3 separate regions of the Homo sapiens genome follow, and all the other regions are linked to region 1. Evidence: promoter capture Hi-C in 16 types of primary human blood cells and fetal thymus (Javierre and others, 2016). All regions are on one chromosome and are shown on one strand. The core of a region is centred on a gene start or on the middle of the fragment in contact, and the rest is flanking DNA. Distances in the headings are between cores, read along the strand shown.

Evidence for each region. The method cuts DNA at HindIII sites, captures the fragments that hold promoters and counts their contacts. A CHiCAGO score of 5 or more calls a contact.
Region 2: a contact is called between a fragment that was not itself captured here and the fragment with the promoter of PCNX2 in region 1, in 3 of 17 cell types (naive B cells, total B cells and total CD8 T cells). The highest score is 7.4, in naive B cells.
Region 3: a fragment that was not itself captured here is called in contact with the fragment with the promoter of PCNX2 in region 1 in 1 of 17 cell types (total CD8 T cells); the score reaches 5.7 in total CD8 T cells.

What each region holds. Positions count from the first base shown.
Region 1 is chr1:233,293,724-233,297,241 of GRCh38, forward strand. It overlaps PCNX2 (pecanex 2), which reads right to left and starts at 2,002. Exons shown (of 34, transcript NM_014801.4): 1 at 1,603-2,002. The coding sequence starts at 1,755. RefSeq lists an enhancer at 1,388-1,437 and a silencer at 1,718-2,097. The HindIII fragment of the contact is 4,266 bases long and covers 84-3,518 here.
Region 2 is chr1:234,304,303-234,308,220 of GRCh38, forward strand. The region is part of intron 3 of SLC35F3 (solute carrier family 35 member F3); the gene reads left to right. MIR4671 (microRNA 4671) reads left to right here and starts at 2,165; the gene lies at 2,165-2,237. The HindIII fragment of the contact is 3,319 bases long and covers 730-3,918 here.
Region 3 is chr1:234,328,985-234,332,632 of GRCh38, forward strand. No RefSeq gene overlaps it. Among named protein-coding and RNA genes, the nearest start is that of MIR4671, 24 kb to the left of the region's middle. The HindIII fragment of the contact is 924 bases long and covers 1,741-2,664 here.

The DNA of each region.
Region 1 (3,518 bases), core at 752-3,251:
CATCTATTAATTCACTCAGTTCTCATATTCACCCTATAAGGGAGGTACTGTAATTATCCCTGCTTTACAAACAAGGAAGGTGAAGCTTGCTCAAGCTCATATTAGGTCTAGTGAGCAGCAGAACCAGGATTTCACCCTGGTGAGGGCTGTGCTCCTCATGACTTTGCTATGCTGTCCCTCTAGGAAAAGAGAAACCACTGGGGCCCATAGGCTAAGGAAAAATGGGTTAAGAAAAATGGTGCGGAGAATCAGAAAGAAGAAATAAACTTGCATTTATTGCAGGGTTTCCAAGCAGTTTCTGTATTTAATGCTTTTTATATATAATTTTGGTTAATTTTTCTGTGAAGTGGTGATTGTGATGATCACATCCGTTTTAATGATATGAATGCTAAGTTTTAGAAAAGTTCAGTATCAGACCAAACAGCTAATAAGTAGCAGAACAGAATTGTAAACCCAAGGCCTGAGTCCAATCTCAGGTCAAGACAGACCTGTGGCTTTATATGTACTATCTCATTTAATCCCTAAAACAATCTGTAAATCTGGTACTATTACTTTTTCTCATTTTACAGATAAGAAAATGAAAAATGAGATATGGTAAATAACCTCCCCAAGGTCACAGAACTGGTAACCAGTAGACCCAAAATTTAACCTAGGCATCATGACTTCACACCCAGAGTTCTGACCCTTTGGATACACTGCCGGAAAAAGAGTAAAGAGAAACCCAATCACAAATGTCAAACTCGGAATCCATCAGTCATGCAAACTCATTGACGATTTTTGCTGTAAAAAAAATGATCAAATAATGTGTTAGGAATAAAGTCCTCCAACCGACATACCAAAATTAGATTCTTGGCACGTAAAGTTTAATAAGACATGGAACACCTTACCTGTACAGCTTTTCAAAGCAGGTAAACCATTGTTTTAATTACGTATAATTTACCTAAGAAGGCCATCTATGTAGTTCTTCAGCAAGCACTCACTTACCATAACCCCACTAAAATGTCAAGCCCCATCTAAATGTTGTAATACTTTGTTTAGCATAAAGTACATTAGATTTATCCATTATTATATCTTCCTACAGATTTCTATACATAGTGGTGTAGAAATTACAATGTGAGTAACTGATAACTGAACTGCCTTCTCAAAGCAAAACAAGAAAGAAGGTGAGGGGGGAAAAAGGGGACAATAACTGAAATGAGTCTGCTTTTTACATTTCGTTTTTCCTCTTGGCTACAATCTACAGCATTTCACACCAAACATTATCCCAAGCTACCCAGCTCTAAGGCCTAGAGTTACCCACCTACAAAACAGGCTGCACGCTCCCTGCCACAAGCAGAGTGACTCATCCTAACATCCGGCATCAATTCTTAATGAGTCCCCGAGCCCCCGCAGTCCTGTCTACTTCTTTTCTTTTCCAGTGAATCCTCACAGTCCCCTTTCCCTGCATGTTCTCTGTCCCAAATTTCTGAAGCCCCTCCCTTTCCGTCTCTTAAGAATCTCTACGAACCCGAAAGCCCGTGAGGCTGATGGCACGTCTGTGGTTCCTTTCTCCTTCTTCCCTCCATACCCACAGCTCCCCGGGACCGGACCCTCCCCACTCACCAGGTGCAGGGCCAGGGGCAGCAGCAGGAGGAACAGCCACAGGTAGAGGTGGCAGCTGTTGGTGAACTTGCTCTGCTCCGGGTCGTGGTACCAGCCCCCGGTGAGCGCGGCCCACACGCCCTGCCGGAGCAGCTGCAGCACCTGGGACACCATGCCGGCTGCGCCCCGGGGCTGGTGAGCGCCCCGCTGCACCCTGCGCGCCCCGGCCGGATCTCCAGGCTCCCTCAGGTCTAACACCCGGGCCCGCGGGCCGCGCCCCCGCCGTCGCCGCCGCCGTCGCCCCCGCCGCCTCCTTCCACCCCACGTTTGAAGCTGGAGCTGCTCTTCCGCCCGGACCCGCGAACCGCGGCGCCGGAGCCGGCTGCTGCGGCCGGGCAGGTGAGCGCCATGTCCGAGGGAGGAAGGATTTTCCCATCGTGCTCAGAGGCGGCTGCTCAGAGGTTGCTTCCGAGGCTCCTCCCAACGCCCGCCCAGTCCCTCCTTAGCCTTCGCTGGGGGCCAGAAGGATTTCTGTGAGTGCCTCCAGCCTTTTCTTTCTCTCTTTCTCTTTTTCTCTCTTTCTTTCTCTCTCTCTTTTTCCTTCCTCCTCCCTCCCTCTCTCTCTCTTTCTTCCTTCCTTCCTTCCTTTCTCTCTCTCTCTCTCTTTCTTTCTCGCTCTTTTTTTCTTTCTTTCTTTCTTTTTTTTTTTTGCCTCTCCCCTCTTCCCTTCCCCTTCTCTCTGATCCTCCTGTTAGGGGACGTGCAAGGGTGTTCTCATGCAGAAGGCACAGACCCAGGACACGTTCCTTGTCCTTGTCCTTTTTTGCACCCAAGTATTTACCTCATACAAGGTCCTGTCACACAGCACTCAAAGTAATTTCTTCTCCTGAGCACTTCCTGCACGACTTCATTCTCCTTAATTAAGGGCTGACCCCAGACGTTCTATTAATCTAAGCTCTACCTGGTCCTCTGCCACTGATCTTCTGTCCTCCCTGACTGTTTCTCCTCCACTCCCTGTTGTCCAACTTGGTGGAGAAAGAAGATAACCACCTTCCTGATAAAATTTTAGGAGCTTCAGTTAGCCTTAGTTTTTTATCTCTTTCCTAGAACATAATCCCAGGTATTTAACTGGCTATATAGAACATTAGTCTAAATCTCTCTATGCTGTTTAGACAGGAAGACCCACTGGACAAAAAATTAATAATCTTTAAGCTATTATATATTTTATCATTTACAGTGGATACAGTTTAGATTCTCTTTTGAGAGTGGGTTTTGGAAAGGGAAGAGATAAAAAGGAGCTTGTCTTCCTTTGGGATGAGGAGCAGAAGCCCTGTGTGAGCTAGAGCCTTAGGGAGAGACAAAGATTAGAGGGCTCCATGATTCCCAACACGCCTTCCCTGCATCATCCTTACCTGGTCTGTCCCAACACATCACACTCCTCTGACTTGTGTGCCTGCCTGTGTCCTGGCCATGTTCTGGTCTGCAGCAGCACTTACTTATGGCTGCCCTAGTCAGGCCCAGTAAAGGCACACCAGCCTTCCCAGGCTGAAACGAAGATAAGGACAGGCCCATCATGAGGAGAGGGCCCAGGACATGAAAGGCCACTGAGTTACAGCAAAAGCCTCACTATGGTGTGTCTGCCATCAGCTATAACCACTCTTCCTTCTACTTTACATTCATCAGTAGGAATGAATCATCAAAATGGAATATGGCTGCTTTCTGTACTGGAAGAGTAATTTTCTTAAAGACACAGCTTGTAAACAAATGGGCTTTTTTGTATATCTGCTCAAAATGCTTGTAACCTACCAGGTGCTGTATAAGTGTTTAATGGGTTAATCAACCAATCAACTCCACATTAAAGGAGCGCCGTCACGTGCATGGGTATAGGAGGAAAGGTCATGCAACAGTCTGTTCCCACATGGAGGTTGTGTCCTTGT
Region 2 (3,918 bases), core at 1,139-3,638, 1.0 Mb after region 1:
AGGTGTGTACCACCACACCAGATAATTTTTATATTTTTTTAGTAGAGGCAGGGTTTCACCATATTGGCCAGGCTGGTCTTGAACTCCTGACCTCAAGTGATCTGCCCGCCTTGGCATCCCAAAATGTCTATTAATTTCTAAAATGTAGTTATATATTTAATTTCCAAGATTATATCCTTTTTAATAACCATTTGTTCTTGTTTCATAGATACAATATCTTCTCTTATCTCTGCAAGGATATTATCTCTCTGCCACCCCACGCACATACCTATATAAATCCTTCCTGTCCTTTAGTCCTTCGGTTCAGCTCAAAATCCACATTTTTATGAGGACTTATCCAGTCAGCCCAACTCTCCACTGTAGCATCATTATATTCCACACCATCTATCTCCTATGTGAATATGTTAGGCTTGCATTGCCTCCTATGGAAGGATAAATGTTATCTCCCCAATTACACCTTCTCATGAGCAGGGGCTGCTCTTGAAAATTAAATGTAGGATACCAATATTTTAAAATGTAATAGAAGAGTTGGAATATAAAGTCAAGATAATCTCCCATAAAATAAGATAGAGAAAGCAAGAAGGAAAAAAGAAAATTAGAAGATCAAACCAAAAGATCCAATATCAAACTAAAAGAAGCACCAGAAAAACTGAAATAGAAAAAAACTAAATAGAAAAACTGAAGTGGAGGAAATTACAAAAGAAATAATTCATCTTAGTTTAAAAGAAAAGCTTCCTTAGCTTGAAAAGTTTACTTTTCTGTATCAGCCACAAGGCCTTGTCTAGAATTGTGGGAATGGCAAGTGCTAAACCAGTGTTTGTTGATATGAATTAAATGATAAGCCATCCTCATCCCTAAATGTGTGATATAACCAAATTTTAGAAATTCATAGAAAAGTTAGAATATGAAGTCAAGACAGGCTATCCCAGCTAGGATTCTTTAAAGAGTACTAAGAACATAAGTATGTAAGTATTTGTCAAATAATATGAGTGCAGAACTTATAGATTTTTACCATTTTTTCTTTTACCATGTTTCTTTGAATAATTCTATTGAATAATTAAATATTCAGTAGCAGTATTGCTTTTTTTTTTTTTTTTTTGAGACAGAGTCTTGCTCTGTCACCAGGCTAGAATGCAGTGGCACCACCTTGGCTCACTGCAACCTCCGCCTTCCAGGTTCAAGCGATTCCCCTCCCTCAGTCTCCCAAGTAGCTGGGACTACAGGCGCGCACCACCATGCCTGGCTAATTTTTTTGTGTTTTTAGTAGAAATGGGGTTTCACCATGTTGGTCAGGCTGGTCTCGATCTCCTGACCCTGTGATCCACCCACCTTGGCCTCCCAAAGTGCTGGGATTACAGGCGTGAGCCACCACCCCCAGCCTAGTATTGCTTATTTTTATTAAGTCTTTCTTGAAGCTCTCAATTTAGATTTCATGGAAAAAAAGTTTTCGTTTCCCACTCATATTTCATTGGTTTATGAAATACTTAATTAAACCGTGTAATTGAAATACCAAGAACAGCTAACTGGCACAAGCAGGATCAGAAGTAAATACATCTAATCTTTGTATGTGACTCAATCCATAGGAACAGAAGGACTTGAGTGTTCTGGAAGTAACCTGCCACCCTCTAGTCTTAAGCCTGCCAGCAGCATCAGTGAGCAGAAGGAATGAAGGGTGTTAGACTGTCCCGTCAGTAATGTGGGCGTCAGTCAAGAGAGTGTTGACTGTGCTCCATTTGTATACCAAGAAGAGGGAGGTCTCTGGCAGAAATGGATTCATGTTCATCATCTGTCTTGGGTTCCCTTGCAATCAAGGACGTACATGGGCCAGCCAGATCCTGAGATATTGTGCTGGGTTTTTTTGTTTGTTTGTTTTTTGAGATGGAGTTTCACTCTTGTCACTTAGGCTGGAGTGCAATGGTGCAATCTCAGCTCACTGCAACCTCCGCCTCCCGGGTTCAAGTGATTCTCCTGCCTCAGGCTCCCGAGTAGCTGGGATTACCGGTGCTCACCACCATGCCTGACTAATTTTTGAATTTTTAGTAGAGACAGGGTTTCACCATGTTGGCCAGGCTTGTCTCAAACTCCTGACCTCAGCTGACCCGCCTCGGCCTCTCAAAGTGCTAGGATTACAGGTGTGAGCCACCGCTGCCGGCCAATATTATGCTATTTTAAGACCGAAGACTGTGCGCTAATCTCTTAGCACTGAAGATTAGTGCATAGTCTTTGGTCTCAAAATATCACAAAGCTCACCAGTCCAGGGGGCCAATTGTCTTGGTCTCATTAGAACCAAGACCTACCAACCTAAGCTGTGATCTCCTGGCCATGAGGCCTTAAAGGGCCAGCAGGACTCTGCCAGGCCTCAGAGTCTCACCTTTTTCATCTCCAGGATGGGATCCCCACTCTCTCCCCATTTCCAGCAACTTGGGCCATCAATACCAAGCCATATCTGTGCCCTACCTCCCTTCTCCATCCCATCTACAATGATCAGGCTTTGGAGGAGTCAAATATGGATTTTCAAAGAGGAAGTAGGTTGCCCAGTTAGCCTTGGATGGCCCCTTCCAGAAGATGAATTGTTTTTCATGACAGTGAGCCAGGTGGAACTTGGAAATTCTGCTTGCATGATGTTCTTCTCTTAGAAAGGGAAACCTCTAAGTATAGTGGAGATAGATTGACATTAATGGCCAGAAAGAATATTTGTATTTTATTTTGGTCATACTCAATGGACCAGCATCACTTTGTAGCCACCATAATCACAAACATAAAGGAAGCCATCATTCACGGTCACTGCCCCTGGGGGAACAGACTGTTCTGCAAACAGGGGCTTGGGAAAACCCCATAGAAAATGTAGCTGGAATATTGTATGAAAATTACATGGCAAACAGAAATATCAGCCTCTCAGTTAGATGAGGGTTGCAGCTATATAAAGCCAAAATGGAATCAATTCAGTTGAATCGGTTTCATGATAAATTTAGTGAAGTGAATGTTTTACCTGGCCCCGGTTTGTTCAGAAGCAACATAGGACTCTGTGTACAGAGAGAGGTGGCCAAACTGCACCAGACTCCACAAAACGGTAAGTGTGTTTCTCCTCTCTCAATATCCCAGGCTCTCATGCCTTTCTCTAAGGAGTTTTCCTGTTCCTGCTATGGACATCCCATAGTTGAGTCATGAACAAAGACAGATTTCCTTCTAGATTGATAGGAAGACTAGACAGTAAAATTAAATTTAAAATCTTACCCAATCCCCTTTGACTCTTGTTTTTAATTTTCCTCCTTTTTCTCTGCATTTTAATATTAAGTGGCACAGACCAGAGCTATTCCCCCAACCTAGTGCATTTGGTTTATTCTAGAGATGTCTTTTCTTTTGTTCTCGTGGCAGTTCATTTGGGACTGAGTCTATTTCTAGATCACTAGCAGGCTGACTCCCTTCCTGGCTGGCAGGCCATCCCCAGCTGTGGCAGTGCAGCACCATGTCCATGAGCCTGGACAGGGACTTCCATGAAGCAGTGCCTCCTCACTTGTCCATCTCCTTGCCTAGCTCATCGGGCCCAACCCAGCAATGATCTTCACTCCCCAACAGTCAAGGAAAGAGGCAGCTGTCAACCAAGCCTTCTCAGTGGCCTTTCTCCACACCCGAGCTCCCCACGGCCTCCTCTACTTCCTTCTTCTGCATGTAGAAGACTGGCTTTAATTTTCTTAAAGATTTTTTGAACTATCTGTGATCCTTCCCCCTAGACTCTAGAACGGCATCAAAAGACTTTCTTCTACAGATGTTTCCTCATCTCATTCCCGCGTTAGACTCTGAACTTTTGGATCTGCTTATTCTTCCTGTGCTAGATAGTGTCTTAGAGAAGTGGGGCTTCCACATGGTGGAATAGGTACCCTAAAAATGGCCTCAGGGAGAAAATAGGTCACGAGTTAA
Region 3 (3,648 bases), core at 953-3,452, 1.0 Mb after region 1:
ATGCATGTCATAGGGGGATCTCAGAGGCTAGGGAGAGACAGCCACTGGAACCGCTGTTTCTAAGACCCTCTTCCTACCCGCCCACGGAAGTGGGAATGGGGATGGAAGGCCGCACCAGAGAACACTGGCTGAGACATGACTCAGGGACCCACACTCCTCCTCCCTGCACCTCTCCCATCTTCAACGTGCAGCTTTGCAGTGGCGAGCCAGAGAAGCAAGACGAGGAGGTGGCTCACATCACTGCTGCTCAGACTGGGAAGTGTTTGAACCCTGAGGGTTTGTTTAAACTTCCAGGCCAGTCTCCACACAGCAAGAGTGGGACCATATGGGGGTTAAAAAAAGAAACCCGGTCGGGCGCAGTGGCTCACACCTATAATCCCAGAACTTTGGGAGGCCGAGGCAGGTGGATCATTTGAGGCTAGGAGTTCGAGACCAGCCCGGCCAACATGGTGAAACTCCGTCTTTACTAAAAATACAAAAATTAGCCAGGTATGGTGGTGGGTGCCTGTAATCCCAGCTACTCGGGAGGCTGAGACAGGAGAATCGTTTGAACTCGGGAGGCAGAGGTTGCAGTGAGCCAAGATCATGCCACTGCACTCCAGTCTGGGTGACAGAGTGAGACCCTGTCTCAAAAAAAATAAAACAAAGTAAAATAAAAAAAGAAACCCAGCTGGATGCAGTGGCTCATGCCTGTAATCCCAACAATTTGGGAGGCAGAGGTGGGTGGATCACTTGAGCTCGAGTTCAAGACCAGCCTGGGCAGCATGGTGAAACCCCGTCTCAATAAATAAATAAATAAAAGAAAACCTATCCGTGCATCACAGTGGTGCTCTTTTTTTAATTTATACCTGTTTATCAAGGATTAGAGTATAACTTTTTAAACTAATTTTATTTTGTCCTCAGACCACTCTCTTTTGGCATCTTCATTGATGGGAACTGTAAACCCTGTCACACCAACTAGATATAGCTATTCCCCCAGTGCTCCTGCTTTCCCTCTGTTATCTGCTTTCATTCACATGGTGAAAAATTGAATTTCCGGCATGTCTTCCTTGTGGGGAGGCTGAGAGTCTAGCACCTTTTTAGGATTTTGCAATTATGTGTGCAGTGTCGGTAGCTTGCTGTATGGTCCTGTCCCGTATGTTGAATTTCCTCAAAGATACCATGTGTGCGTATGTGTGTGCGTTTGCCACATTTACTGTGTTGTTTTTGATTAGTATCTCTTTCCCACCAATTAGACTATTGCTATTTGTTTAAATAAATGATCCCTGTAAACTAATCACCATACAATAATCACTACCTCTTTTAAATGATATCATTTAGAAACAGACATATAATCATCAAGGTGCAATCTGGCGACTTTCTTCATTCCCCTATTGCAAGAGTTACCTCTTCCTCTTTTTTTTTTTTTTTTTTTTTTCTGAGACGGAGACTCGCTCTGTCGCCCAGGCTGGAGTGCAGTGGCACAATCTCGGCTCACTGCAAGCTCTGCCTCCTGGGTTCACGCCATTCTCCTCCCTCAGCCTCCAGAGTAGGTGGGACTACAGGTGCCCGCCACAACACCCGGCTAATTTTTTGTATTTTTAGTAGAGACAGGGTTTCACCGTGTTAGCCAGGATGGTCTTGATCTCCTGACCTCATGATCCGCCCGCCTCGGCCTCCCAAAGTGCTGGGATTACAGGCGTGAGCCACGGCGCCCCGCCAAGAGTTACCTCTTAGGTTGACCATGGTGTTTTTCTCCAAAGCTTAATTTAAAAAATTCAAATCTTACCACTAGCACCACCTTAAAGTCCAAAGTACATTTGGACATTTAACTGCCCCCCCAGATTTGACTGTCCCAAGGCCATTATTACATCACAGGTTCTATGGGTTACTTTTATCTAAATTTTATCTCAATTTTCTGATAGCATTTAATTTCCTTTTTAGCTGAGAGAAAGTGCTTTCACACAGCCAGACAAAGTCCCGTCAGCTCCCCATGGACTCAATGACTCACCTCTCATCCTCTGAAGCGTTCACTGTGGGTCATGCACACTTGTCCATATTTCTAAATCCTAGGTCGACAAATAATGTACGCAGCCACCCTCACTCCCTGAACAATCAGAAATGGAGGTTTGGCCAGGCACATGGCTCATGCCTGTAATCCCAACACTTTGGGAGGCCAAGGAAGGTCCAGGAGATTGAGGCTGCAGTGAGCTAAGATTGTGCCACTGCACTCTAGCCTGGCAACAGAGTGAAACTCTGAGAAAGAAAGAGAAAGAGAACAGTGCATAGTCTTTTCATTTAGAATGAATTTTCACACCAAAAATATATCATTTGATCTCACACCTGGATGAATTCAGCACACACTGATGCCCACTTTATCATCTATGTGTTTCTAGAAGTTAGTCTCTTTTCCTTAGTTGATAATCTTTGTTTTCAAATTCTTAAAAATAGAAATCTCTCCAGATTCAGGTGCAGTGGTATGACAGAACAGTGCAATGGTTAATAAAATGAAATTTGCAAGCAGATAGAACTGGATTCAAAGCCCAGCTCTACCATTTATAGTTTTATCTCCTTGGTCAAGTCACTTGACATCTCTGAGTCTCAGTTTTCTCACCTGTAATATGAGGCTAATAATCAACTCTGCCATACAAGGTTGTCAAAGTAAAACAAAGTCATACATATAGAAGCTTAGCACAATCTCTAGACATAAGTAGTTGCTCAATCAGTGATAGCATTTACATCATCATCACCAGCATCATCATCACGGCAGGGCTGCCAAGCTTGAGCAAGAGCGTGTCAGCCAGGGTTGTGGCTGTATTTCTCTGGTTCTCATTCTACAATATCTCTCCCACTCTCCCTGTTTCCCCCTCTCCCAGTCTCTCCTTTGTCTACTCCCATCACATGGGGGTGTCCATCCCTTTCCATCCAAGGCCACATTCACCCTCATTTTCATGCAGTTTTGTGTCTTTAATTTTTACCTCTTTGAAAATCACTTTCAAATCTTCTCTGCCAAACTTCAAATCTGAGTTTTTCACTATCTTCCAGACATTCCTCCCAATGTATCCTAGCAACCCCTCCATCTTAACATGTCCAAAACTAAACACACAATTATCTCACTCAAAAACCTATTCCTCCTTCTTAACCTATTGATGTGAATTGGCATCATGATTATCTTATTTTCCCAAGCATAAAATCTTAATACTGGTCTTTAACTTCTTCCTTACTCCTACACTAGCAATCACTGTGCCATACACTCCAAGGCAGTTTCATTATAACTGCAAAGCATCTCTAGAAGCCTCTCCTCTACCACCACCCTACTTTATACCCCAGGACACACCACCTAGGGCATAGTCAGTCTCCTGATCATTCTCTACACCCTGTTGAGCTGGGATTGCTTCACTTTCTTATGCAAAGATCTTGAGTAGCTTCCTGTACTTTATTAAATAAACCTTCATTCCCTACCCTGGACTCAAGGCCCTCCATAATTTGGCAGTTGGTGACCTTTCCAACTCATGTGTCACTGCAACTACCACTGTCTCCTGCCCTCCAACCACATAGGACTGTTCACTATTTCTCTAATATATCCTATCCTCTCTTGTCCTGGTAACATGGTTTATTCCACATGGGATCCTTCCTCCCCTTCCCTCTCTTTCTGCCTAACCAAACCCT